2 separate regions of the Homo sapiens genome follow, and region 2 is linked to region 1. Evidence: promoter capture Hi-C in 16 types of primary human blood cells and fetal thymus (Javierre and others, 2016). All regions are on one chromosome and are shown on one strand. Each heading gives the region's core, a stretch centred on a gene start or on the middle of the fragment in contact. The rest is flanking DNA. Distances are from core to core; before and after follow the strand shown. Region 1 holds the start of LINC01605 (long intergenic non-protein coding RNA 1605). Region 2 overlaps LINC01605 (long intergenic non-protein coding RNA 1605).

Region 1 (5,263 bases), core at 732-3,231:
TCATACCTATCAACAAGAGAGATTCCTGCTCCTCCAGCCCCTCCACCCCTTCACTTTTGTGCTGAGGAACCCCCCATCACCAGGAGGAAGGAAGCCTGCCCAGTAAAGGGGCACTCCCAACAGCCCACCAGCTCCTGCGCCCAGCTGCCCCTGAAATCCTCGGACTCATTTTGTCCAGCAGCCTTGACTTTGTCAGGGGTACCAGTCATGTAATCCCTGAGGTGTCTACAAAACCCCGCAGTCATGGGCTCCATGCACACTCAAGAACAATGAGGAGCTTCAAAAGCTAAGGAGGCTTTTCCCAATGCTTCCATGGTGTCTCGATGGTTCCTGAGGTCTTGATACTCTGCCATGGCTTGGCAGTTTGGAAATGGTTTCCTGGTCTGGCTGTCCTAAGGATCCCTGGTTGTGTGACTGGGAACAAACCCTTCAACCTTCCAGGCACAGTTTTCTTCTGTAAAATGAGAGGGTTGGGTGCAAGTTTCCTGAGGCCCTGGGGCCTTGTGGCTGAGTTTATCTCCCCGACTCCCTGTCCATCCTCCTATGGAAGTACTCATAAAGCATTTCACAGCCACAAGGAAAAGGCACACAAGGTCCCCCAGCCCCCACACACAGAGGAGCCACACCTGCACCCCTCCCTCAAGGCCAGGCTTCCTCTCCCCCAGCACACGCAAGTTCTTCTCGGCCTCCCAGCTCTTTTCAGCAGCTCCCCAGAATGGAACGGCCCAGCCATGGCTTCTCAGAGGACAGCTTCTTGGCAGAGCTGGGAGTGGGTGGAGTAGAGCACATTTTTTCCTTTGAGGTCCAAAGGGCTGTCAACCCTCTTCAGCTGCCCTGGGGCCCAACAGCCACAGAGAGAGATTTATGACCTGGATAGCTTTGATCCCAGTCTCCGATAAACATCAGGAACAGCTCGACCCTAAACCCCGAGGAGAAGGTTTATGGATCAGAATGCAGCCTCCTGGAGAAAACGAGCCCAGGAGGGGGTGCCCAGGGACTGATTGGGCCCTTAAAGTTCTCTCATCAACAGACCCACTGCCATCTGCCCTTGCTTTCTGGGGAAAGGGACACAGCTGGGTGGCTGAGGCCTTTGAACAAGAAGCAATGCTGATCAGAGAGAGGTGAAGATCCTGTCAAAGGTTAAACTGGGGAAGGGGTGGAGGCGGTGGGCCCAGGCCTCTGAAATTCCCCACCCTCGCTCACCTGTTCTTCCAAACAGCGTTGTCCATGTTTCTCTAAACCACACACCAAGACAGAGCAGAGAGAGAACGCACCAGATAAGATCTGAGCTGAGAAAGGAATGTTTCATCCGTGGGTTTTGTTGTCCCTGTTCTTCTTGTTGATACTGTTGTTCTTGGTGATGATGGGGGTGGTTAATTGCTTGATTATATTTCATCCCTGTCTTCTTTCCAAAAGGACAGGGGGCCAGGAGAGTCTGTGTGGTCACAAACCCTTCATAGCTTTTTCCCGTCCCCTCCACTTGACCATGTGGGATGGCAGGGAATCCACACCCTCTTGGAACATCCCCTGTTTTGCTGATTGAAAAGAGATCCTAGAAACAGCACTACATCCAAGGTGAAGGAGGGGCCAGCCAGTCTCCTCTGGATGCCACCTCAGATGGGTTGCCTCAAGTTTAAGGTCTCAGCCACATCCATAAAACTGTTCCCCTCTGTGAAGCAACTTCTGCCATGGGGAGGTGGAGAAGGATCTTCTCAAAGCAAGTCCGACAGGCAGAGTCTTCACTCTCCGGGGTCCGGAGTGTTCTATAGACATCGGGAAACATACATCCATCTAAAAAGACACCCTAATAAACCTGCAGCTATTCATTGCACCCAAGAAACCAGCCTGTGGCCCACGCATGCAGGAATAAACACATATTTGCTGAGAACCAAATTGGGTCTAATGACCCTGGCCTGTCTCGCAGGGTCATCCTGAGAAATAGCTGATGTCAGACGACGAGCGTGAGCAGCTGTTCTCCATTTGCACTCAACAAGAGAAAAGGGCCTTAAATTTCAGCGGGAGGGATTAAGGTTAAACATTAAGAACAGCTTCCTGGCTAGGAGGGTTGTGAAACACTGTAATGTGTTACCAAGGATGCTGTAGACATTCCTCTCTCAATGAGACTTTAAAGAGGAAGGAGGTTGGTGATCTGCCCAGGAGGTTTTATTAGAAACTTTATTAGGTCATCTGGTCCATCCGCCTGAAGGCAAGGGCTTGGACTAAACACCCACCAAGCAAGGCCTTTCTGGGCACAGGAAGGCCTCTATAGTCCTTCACAATCAAAAATGCTGAGAAACTCCCTGGGCCCTAGACAGTGAAAAGAGAAACCAGAGTCATCAGCGAGGCCACCCTTTGGGGCCTGATTTCAAGCTTTAGCTAGTGTTAGTCGCCCATAGCAATAAGAGGGAGAAATGTGATTTTCAAACCCTCCGGAGACCAATACAGTTATTTACCAAACAGCACCAAGTGAAGCTTCCCCACCCACAGGGAAAGGACCATTTCCTGAAAATCAGGTCGGCCCCTGGCATTCCAAGGGCAAGCAGATCACCAGTTCTGACGTGTGGGAGCAAAAGGCAAACCATAAGATCACACATCTGGCTGGGCACGGTGGCTCACATCTGTAACTCCAGCACTCAGGGAGGCCAAGGCAGGATCGCTTGAGGCCAGGAGTTCAAAACTAGGTTGGGCAACATAGTGAGACCCCATATAAACTAAAAAAAAAAAACTTAGCTGGGCACGGTGGTGTGCACCTGTAGTCCCAGCTACTCAGGAGACTGCAGCAGGAGGATCGCTTGAGCCCAGGAGTTTGAGGCTGCAGTGAGCTGGAATCATGCCACTGGACTCCAGCCCAGGCAACAGAGAGAGAGACCCTGTCACAAAACAAAACAAAACAAAACAAAACAAAACACCACATCTTATTGCCAGTGGAACAATCCACCCATTTCACAGATTGGGAGACTGGGGCCTAGATATGGGCAATGTCTTCACACAGTTACTTTGTATCAGAGTTAGGACTGGAAAACCCTGGTTAGGAGGCTGACTTTATCACTCACTACCTGCGTGACCTCAAGCAAGTCATTTAACAACCTCCGGCCCTCAGTAGCCTCTGCTACAAAATAAACAGTTTTTAATCAGGAAACCTAATACACGGAGCACTGTCATCAACTCCAGAGCACTATAGATGGAAAGTGACTGCCCTTGTTACCATCACTCTCACTTCTAGTCCTTTCTGTTCATCTAAGCTGCTGTAAATGTAGTCCTCTAACTTGGAGGGGATCCTTCTAAGTTCTCAGATTAACAGAAAAGTAAAATCTTTGATCTTTAAGACCATGGAAGGTATCTCGTTGGTCTTAGTCAACATCCCATCCAAGCCACTTGTTTTGCAGATGAGATAGGAGAGTATCCGCATACACTCAGAGAATGACAGCAGAGAACATCCCAGGCAGAGGTCGGGGTGGGGAGGAAATGCCAAGGATAAGCTTGGTTGACCTCTCAGTGAGGCTCCCTGGCCCTGGGTATAATTTTCAACTCATTAACTTGAAATCCTAGGTATGCTAAGTCATTCTTTGGTCTCTATTTCCTTAGTAGCCTCTGTTTCCACAGCCCCCAAGTTGCCTGGTTCTGGGGTTAGCACCCGGGGGTGGGAGGGTCTCCCAAAGTCATTCTTGACTAACTTGATGAACCCCGGGAATCTTCCAGTCTCTCACCATCTTCAGCCCTCCCCACCCACTCACCTCCTGCCCCGTCCCACCACTGTCTCTAAAAGGTCAGTTCCCACCCAAGGCAAGAGCAACTCAACAAAATACAAGGACATTTGGTAAGCAACTATTATTTGCAAGGCTCTGGGTAAGCAGATATTATCTGATTTGACCCCCCTGCAACCATCATGCAAGATAGTTATCATCGCCCACCTTTTACAGATAAGCAAGCCATGAATCAGAGGTTACCCAACATGACCTAGTGACACACGTAGCAAAAGTGGCAGATCTGGGGGTTAAATTCTGGTCTCTGAGGCCCCAACGTTTGAGGGGGCAGCTGCTCCTAACCCCGATCTGGGAATCCATCACTCTTCCTAAATGTTTCTGACATTGTCTGCCAGTTCTGATGCTGCAGCCCTCACCTTGACCCCAGGCCTGAGTCCCCTTCTCGGTGAAATCCGATATCCCCTGGGATCGACCGAGGCCCGTCCCTATTCCCCAATTCCTGGAGTTCCATGGTGAATAACAGACATGCCGTGGGGTGGCTTGCTGACCAAGACTTTCAAGCATCCAGATTCTATCACTGTGAGAGCCCGCTGCCTATCCGGAGGGTATGTCCCCTCACTCCATTGCCTGGGTGACACCACACCTTTGGGCCATGATATACCTGCAGAAAGGGACTCCTTGCAAGGCCTGCCCATCCTAGGGCACATCACCTGCCTGTTGTTGCACTTGGCCAGATTCCCCTTAGTCAAGCCCAGACTAAGGCACAGCAACCAGGCCTGCTAGAGGCACCTCCAGATAATGCCATGGTAGCACAGCAGTCAAGAGAACAGGGCCAGGCACAGCGGCTGATGCCTATAATCCCAGCTCTTTGGGAGACGAAGGCGGGCGAATCACCTGAGGTCAGGAGTTCAAGACCAGTCTGGCCAACGTGGTGAAACCCTGTCTCTACTAAAAATACAAAAAATTAGCAGGGCGTGGTTGTGCACACCCATAATCCCAGCTACTCGGGAGACTGAGACAGGAGAATCGCTTGAACCCGAGAGGCGGAGATTGCAGTGAGCTGAGATCTTGCCACTGCACTCCAGCCTGGGTGACTGAGCAAGAGTCCATCTCAAAAAAAACAAAGAAAAGAAAACAGACTCAGGTCAGACTAACTAGCCGGGAGCTCTTGGACAAGTTCCCTATTTACACCTTAGTTTTCCCATCTATAAAATGGAAATATGAGTACCTACCTCACAGAGTTCTGATGAGAATTACATGAGCTAATGTTTGTGAGCACTTAGACCACAGCCTGGCACCTGGTTAGTACAACCTACATGTTATTAAACAAAAGTAAAGGCCTATACTCTGAAGTTTGAAAACCACAGGCCAGGAATCCAGTCATAGGCTCGGGGAATCGTGAGGTTGAAGGGAAACACCTTTCTCCCAGTGCGACTGTCCTTGCTCCCACAGCACCCACAGGTGAGCATGCAGCCTCTGGAATACCTGTAAAGATGAGGAGTTCACTACCTTACAGGCAGACTAGCTCGATGTTAAACAATTTTAATATTTTTGTTTAC
Region 2 (5,263 bases), core at 1,879-4,378, 64 kb before region 1:
ATACTGAGGCAGGAGAATCACTTGAACTCAGGAGGTGGAGACTACAGTCAGCCAAGATTGCATCACTGCACTCCAGCCTGAGCAACAGAGTGAAAAAAAAGAAAATGTTCCATTATTTTTCATTTCTCTTCTCCAGCATCATTTCTGAATACTTCAAATGATAAAACATCAAAGAGACCTCCTGAGGTCACTGGATGTTCATCTCATGGGTAAGAAAACTGAGGATGAGTGTGGGGAGTCCCAGCCTAACCTTCTGTCCCCAGAACATGCTGTATGGTGTGGCAGTGACTGCTAAGGGCTGACACCCGGCTCTGAACCTGCATCCCTGGGACCCTCCCCCACCTAACTACACACTTCAAGTTTAGAGGGTAATGCATAACCTGTGCCATTGCCTTTTAAAGATTGAATATTGATGGTGCTTTTATAGCCATCCTTACGGGAAACTGTTCTGGGGTCTTAGCAATCTTAGCGATTCTGTTCCTGGTGTCCTGAGGGAAGGGGCTTGAGCAACTGAACAAGAACTGTAGGCTAAAGGTAAGAAACGTTTTCTTCATGAGTCATGAGTGGAAAAGAGAAATCTGAATTAGTTTCCTACAGTTGCTGTAACAAAATACCACAAATGTGGTGGCTTAAAACCACAAGAATGTATTATCTTACTCTTGTGGAGGTCACAAATCTAAAATGGTTCCTAAATTCAGGGCTAAAATCAGGGGGTGGGCAGGGCTGTGTTTCTTTCTGGGGACTCAGGAGAAATCTGTTTCCTTGCCTTTTCCAAATTCTAGGGGCTGCCCACATTCCTTGACTCATGGCCCCTTCTGCCATCTTCAAAGCTCACAATGACCAGTCAAGTCTTTCTCACATGACATCACTGACTCTGGGTCTCTGGTCTCCCTTTCTTACTTATAAGGATCCCTATGATGACTTTGGACTCACACAGAAAATCAGGGTAATCTTCCCCTGTCAAGAGCAGCAAATTGGCAACCTTAATTCCATCTGCATCCTTAATCCCCACCCCCACCATGTAACATTCCATATTCTCAGGTTCCAGAGATGAAGACATGGATATCTTTGGAGAACTATTATTCTGCCTACCTGGTATTCAAACCTCCTCCCCATCCTTTTCCCCTTCGGGCTGACAGAGACATTGCTGCTTGATCAGAACACTCATTTCCTCCTCACATCCAGTCTCAGATTCCTTTCAAACACCATGCTTCCTCAGGCACCATGAATGCACTGGCCTTGGCATAGAAGCAGCATCCACTTGCTAGCCCTGAATTCAACATACAAAGCAAACCCTTGAACGCGGGTAGGGTGGTCTAGGAAATGCTGATCTTTGCAGGCCATCTCAGGGTTTTGGTGTAGCCCCAGCCAAAGACAGAGATGTGTAGAATCTTACGTCTCATCTCTGACATCAAAGGGACTCCACTGGCTACAAGGACCCATCCCAGCTCTCCATCTGGAACCACAGTTGATAGCAGGACATTTTCCTGGTCAGTTTTTCTTGGGAGATTTTTTGTCTGAGCACTAAGTTATTCCATGTGGGCAATTTTCCCACTTGTTTTGGGGTCACTGGACCATACTTCCTTCTGTCACTTTCTGCTTCTGCACAGAGCACCTGCAGTGACCTTATTCCTTGCAAGTAAAGAGATGCTTTTTCCACTGAGGGGCTCCTCCTGCTGGTCTCTGCAGAGAGAATGCAGAGTCCCTGAGGGTCAGTGAAAAGCTGTGTCTGTTTCCCTCGCCCTTAGAGGGTTAAAACCAAATGCACCTGACAACTGCTGGATAGTCCAAAACTCTACCATGCCTGACCATGAGAACATAATGGCTGCATTTGCCCAGACGTTGCAAGCCCCTGGCTCAGAAACAAACCCAACAACAGAAAAATAAAGGGTAAATAAATCTGGATGGGAATAAAAGAAAAAAACAGGGCCGTGTGTATTGAGTGAAGTCCTTGCTCTTCTCCTAACTGGACATAGAGTTGGGACAAGTCTCTTCAAGCCTTTGTGGGCCTTTCTTTCATGTAGCCTAAAAAAGAATGTTAGGCCAGATTAATTCTGAGATTTCTGAAAACCCTCATAGCAAACAGCTTTGGCTCTCACAGCCTGGAATGGTTTCAAAAGAGAGTAACAAGAATGGTGGAGGGCTCAGAATGGTCAGTTCAGAAAAGAGATTGAAAACACTGGGAATGTTCATCCAGGAAAAGAGAGGACGGGGGATGGTGATGGTCCTCTGGGTTTCAATCAGCCCATTTGCATGTGATCCCATTAGTGTAACTTTCTTTTTTTTTTTTTTTTTTTTTTTTTGAGACAGGGCCTTGCTCTGTTGCCCAGGCTGGAGTGCAGTGGCACAATCTCGGCTCTCTGCAACCTCTGCCTCCTGGACTCAAGTGATCTTCCTACCTCAGTCTCCCGAGTAGTTGGGACCACAGGCACATACCTTCATGCCCGGTTAATTTTTGGTATTTTTGGTAGAGACAGGGTTTCACCATGTTGCCCAGGCTGGTCTCGAACTCCTGACCTCAGGCAATCCACCCGCCTCAGCCTCCCAAAGTGCTGGGATTACAGGTGTGAGCCACCGCACCCAGCCAACAATGACTTAACTTTCACCAGCTCACTCAGAGCGGCAGCCTGTTTGCAAGTGTCCCCCAGTATTTCTAGAGTGACTTGGGGGTGCCTCATGTGTGCTCAACACACACAGCAGTTTTCTGGTCCCCATAGTTCTACTCTCATTGGCCTGATCCAGGCCTCTGCCAGGACACAGGGCGCTGCTACCTCTTGCTGGGGATCGCTGTCCTTGCCACCACAGAGATGCTCAAGACCAGAGAACCGCAGGCTCTGCAGTGCAGTGGAGGAGTGAGCCTCTCTCCCCGTTTCGTGTTAGTCTCAAGATGAGTCCCAGAGCTGGTTCCCCAGTGACTACCACATGTTAGTGTCAACCATTCTTTCCATTTTTGTGCATAGCTTTTTTGCTCTCCATAGATCTCTTAACGAAGTCCAATGGGGGCTGAGTAGTGAGACAGATTCTGCTGTGAGCTGTACACTGGGCCATGCTCAGAACCTCTCCTTTCCTGTCACAATTAAAGCTCAGTGACCAAGTTAGGTGTTAATGCCTGGTTCCTTCTTCCTTCAAGACGAGCTCCTTCCCAGGAGGCTCCATGATCTCTGGTGCACATAGGCTTCTAACAGGCCCATGCAGCAGTTCACCAGGCCTGCCCAGACCTGCCTGAACCAGGTCTGGGCCCCATTTGGGACTCCCTGCATATTTAATGTGTGGCAGCCTGCCATGTCAGAGAGGCACTGCGCTTAAGTTGCCCAGCGAAAAGAAGACCAGTAAGCAGAAGCTACACAATGACAGGGATTGTTTTCCTCAAATGTTGAGTAAAATCTAATAGATCTGTCTATTAGAGATTTCTCAGATGGTTGTGAGTGCCCTGTAATGTGACCCATTTAGACAGATGCCTGCAAAAGCCCTAACAGGGATGTCGTAGAGAAGATGTCCTGAGTGTCAGACATCCAGCCCTAGAAATCTGAACATCCTTCATGTTTCACTGCTGAGATGCTTGTTGGGAAAGTACCTCCTGAATTGTCCTAGAAATAGGCCCCAGGCTTCACCACCAGTTTCATTGCCCATGGAGAATAACCACCCCAAATTCCTCTTCTGAATCTTGTACCCAAGGCTGAGGCCCTCCCGGTTTGCAAATGGAAGAGTGTTGTATAATAGCCAGGACCTTCTGCAACATGGAAGGGTACTTCCACATGACTGGGTCCAAAGAAGACCCACTGGGCATCATCATACTTTTGGGAATCAAGTTTATGCAGGAGAAAAGATGATTTGGGGAGTACAGTAGCTACGCTCAAATATACTAGGGGCTGCATGAAGCAGAAATTTCATATTTTCAGCTTAGGGAAGTAAAAAATGCACAATAGGCTGGAGTCAAAACATTTAAGATTGAGCTATAGTCTCCCTGCATGCAAACTGTGGAATCCCAGACAAGTCACATGAACTCTCCAAGACTTTATTTCCTCACCTGTAAAACGAGCCTAATAACACACACATTGCAAAGTTGTTGTGATAATTATGTGAGAACATTGTGACCTGCAATTGGTATTCCCTAAGCTGAGCTTTTCAAGTGTGTCTTACCCAGCGCTCCACACCCAGTGCCTGGCATGTCACCTGCTATATATAATGCCAGCGTTCAGTAAATGGCCCTTGAATGAAATTGATGTTTCCTCAAAAGACAGAAGGCAGTCAATAGTTAAAGGTTCTAAGGAAGCTAAATCTCTCTTTAACTCAAGGAAGCTCTATCGAACAGCCAGAGCTGTCCACCAGGCTGATTCAGAGGCAGAGAGCTCTATTTCATGGAGGTATTCAATCCCAGAGCCTTGACCAGCTGCCAGAGATGCTCTAGAATGCACTCTCCCTGTAGAAAGATCCCCATAGGATGTGAGAAGCAGAGAGTAGCAAAGCCACATTAAGGTGTAGCTACAGCACTGAAAATCTGTCTCACTCACCAGGCAGGAATCTGCCTCACACACTGGCATCTCAGCACATGCGGTGCAAGCTCAGACCTCACCACAATCGCAAATTATGCCGTGAGCCTTAGGGACACTCACAAATTACAGCAAATATTAAAGCTACTCACACCAAGGTCTATTGAAAACCATGTTATCTGCCTAGACATCCCAATCCAACATGCTGCAGTGTTATGGCTCCTCACTTGTATGTTTGCAGCAGGTAAGAATCGGCATCACTCATTCATTCAACAAGCATCGATTGAGTATCTAATCTATGGCAGGCACTGCACTGGGGTGGGGAAGTGAGGGCAGTGGCTGAGTCAGGGACCAGGGATGAAAGCAGGAATAGGGTACAACCTTTCACACAACAGATTTGCTCTGCCTTAGAGACAAACATATCTATCAGGGACAGAGACATTCCATAGCAACCAAACAAATCAGGGTATAATTACAAACTGTAATAAGCAGCATGAAGGAAAAGTAAGAGGGATATTGAGGGACTATATAGAGGGCCAGTGTCAAGAAAAGGTTTCTCTGGGGAAGCAACATTTGACCTGAGAGCTGGACGCTGAGTCCACTTTAGCCAACTAAAGACTTGGGTGAAGCAGTTTGGAACAGCAGGAACAGCATTTGCAAAGGCCTGAGGCAGGAAAGTGAAGTTAGTCAAAGGACTGAGAGAAGGCGCATGTGGTTGGAAACTCTCAGCAAGTGAGGCAGAGGAGGAACTTGTTAGATATCTTTTCTATCTT

What was found. Contacts are between HindIII fragments. The CHiCAGO score rates a contact against its expected background, and 5 or more counts as called.
Region 2: a fragment that was not itself captured here is called in contact with the fragment with the promoter of LINC01605 in region 1 in 1 of 17 cell types (monocytes); the score reaches 5.1 in monocytes.

The regions. Positions count from the first base shown.
Region 1 is chr8:37,597,858-37,603,120 of GRCh38, forward strand. It overlaps LINC01605 (long intergenic non-protein coding RNA 1605), which reads right to left and starts at 1,982. Exons shown (of 5, transcript NR_170186.1): 1 at 1,204-1,982. LOC105379380 (a long non-coding RNA gene) reads right to left here. Exons shown (of 3, transcript XR_949685.3): 3 at 5,050-5,189. The HindIII fragment of the contact is 9,185 bases long and covers 1-2,368 here.
Region 2 is chr8:37,532,466-37,537,728 of GRCh38, forward strand. The region is part of intron 1 of LINC01605 (long intergenic non-protein coding RNA 1605); the gene reads right to left. Among named protein-coding and RNA genes, the nearest start is that of LINC01605, 65 kb to the right of the region's middle. The HindIII fragment of the contact is 9,978 bases long and covers 1-5,263 here.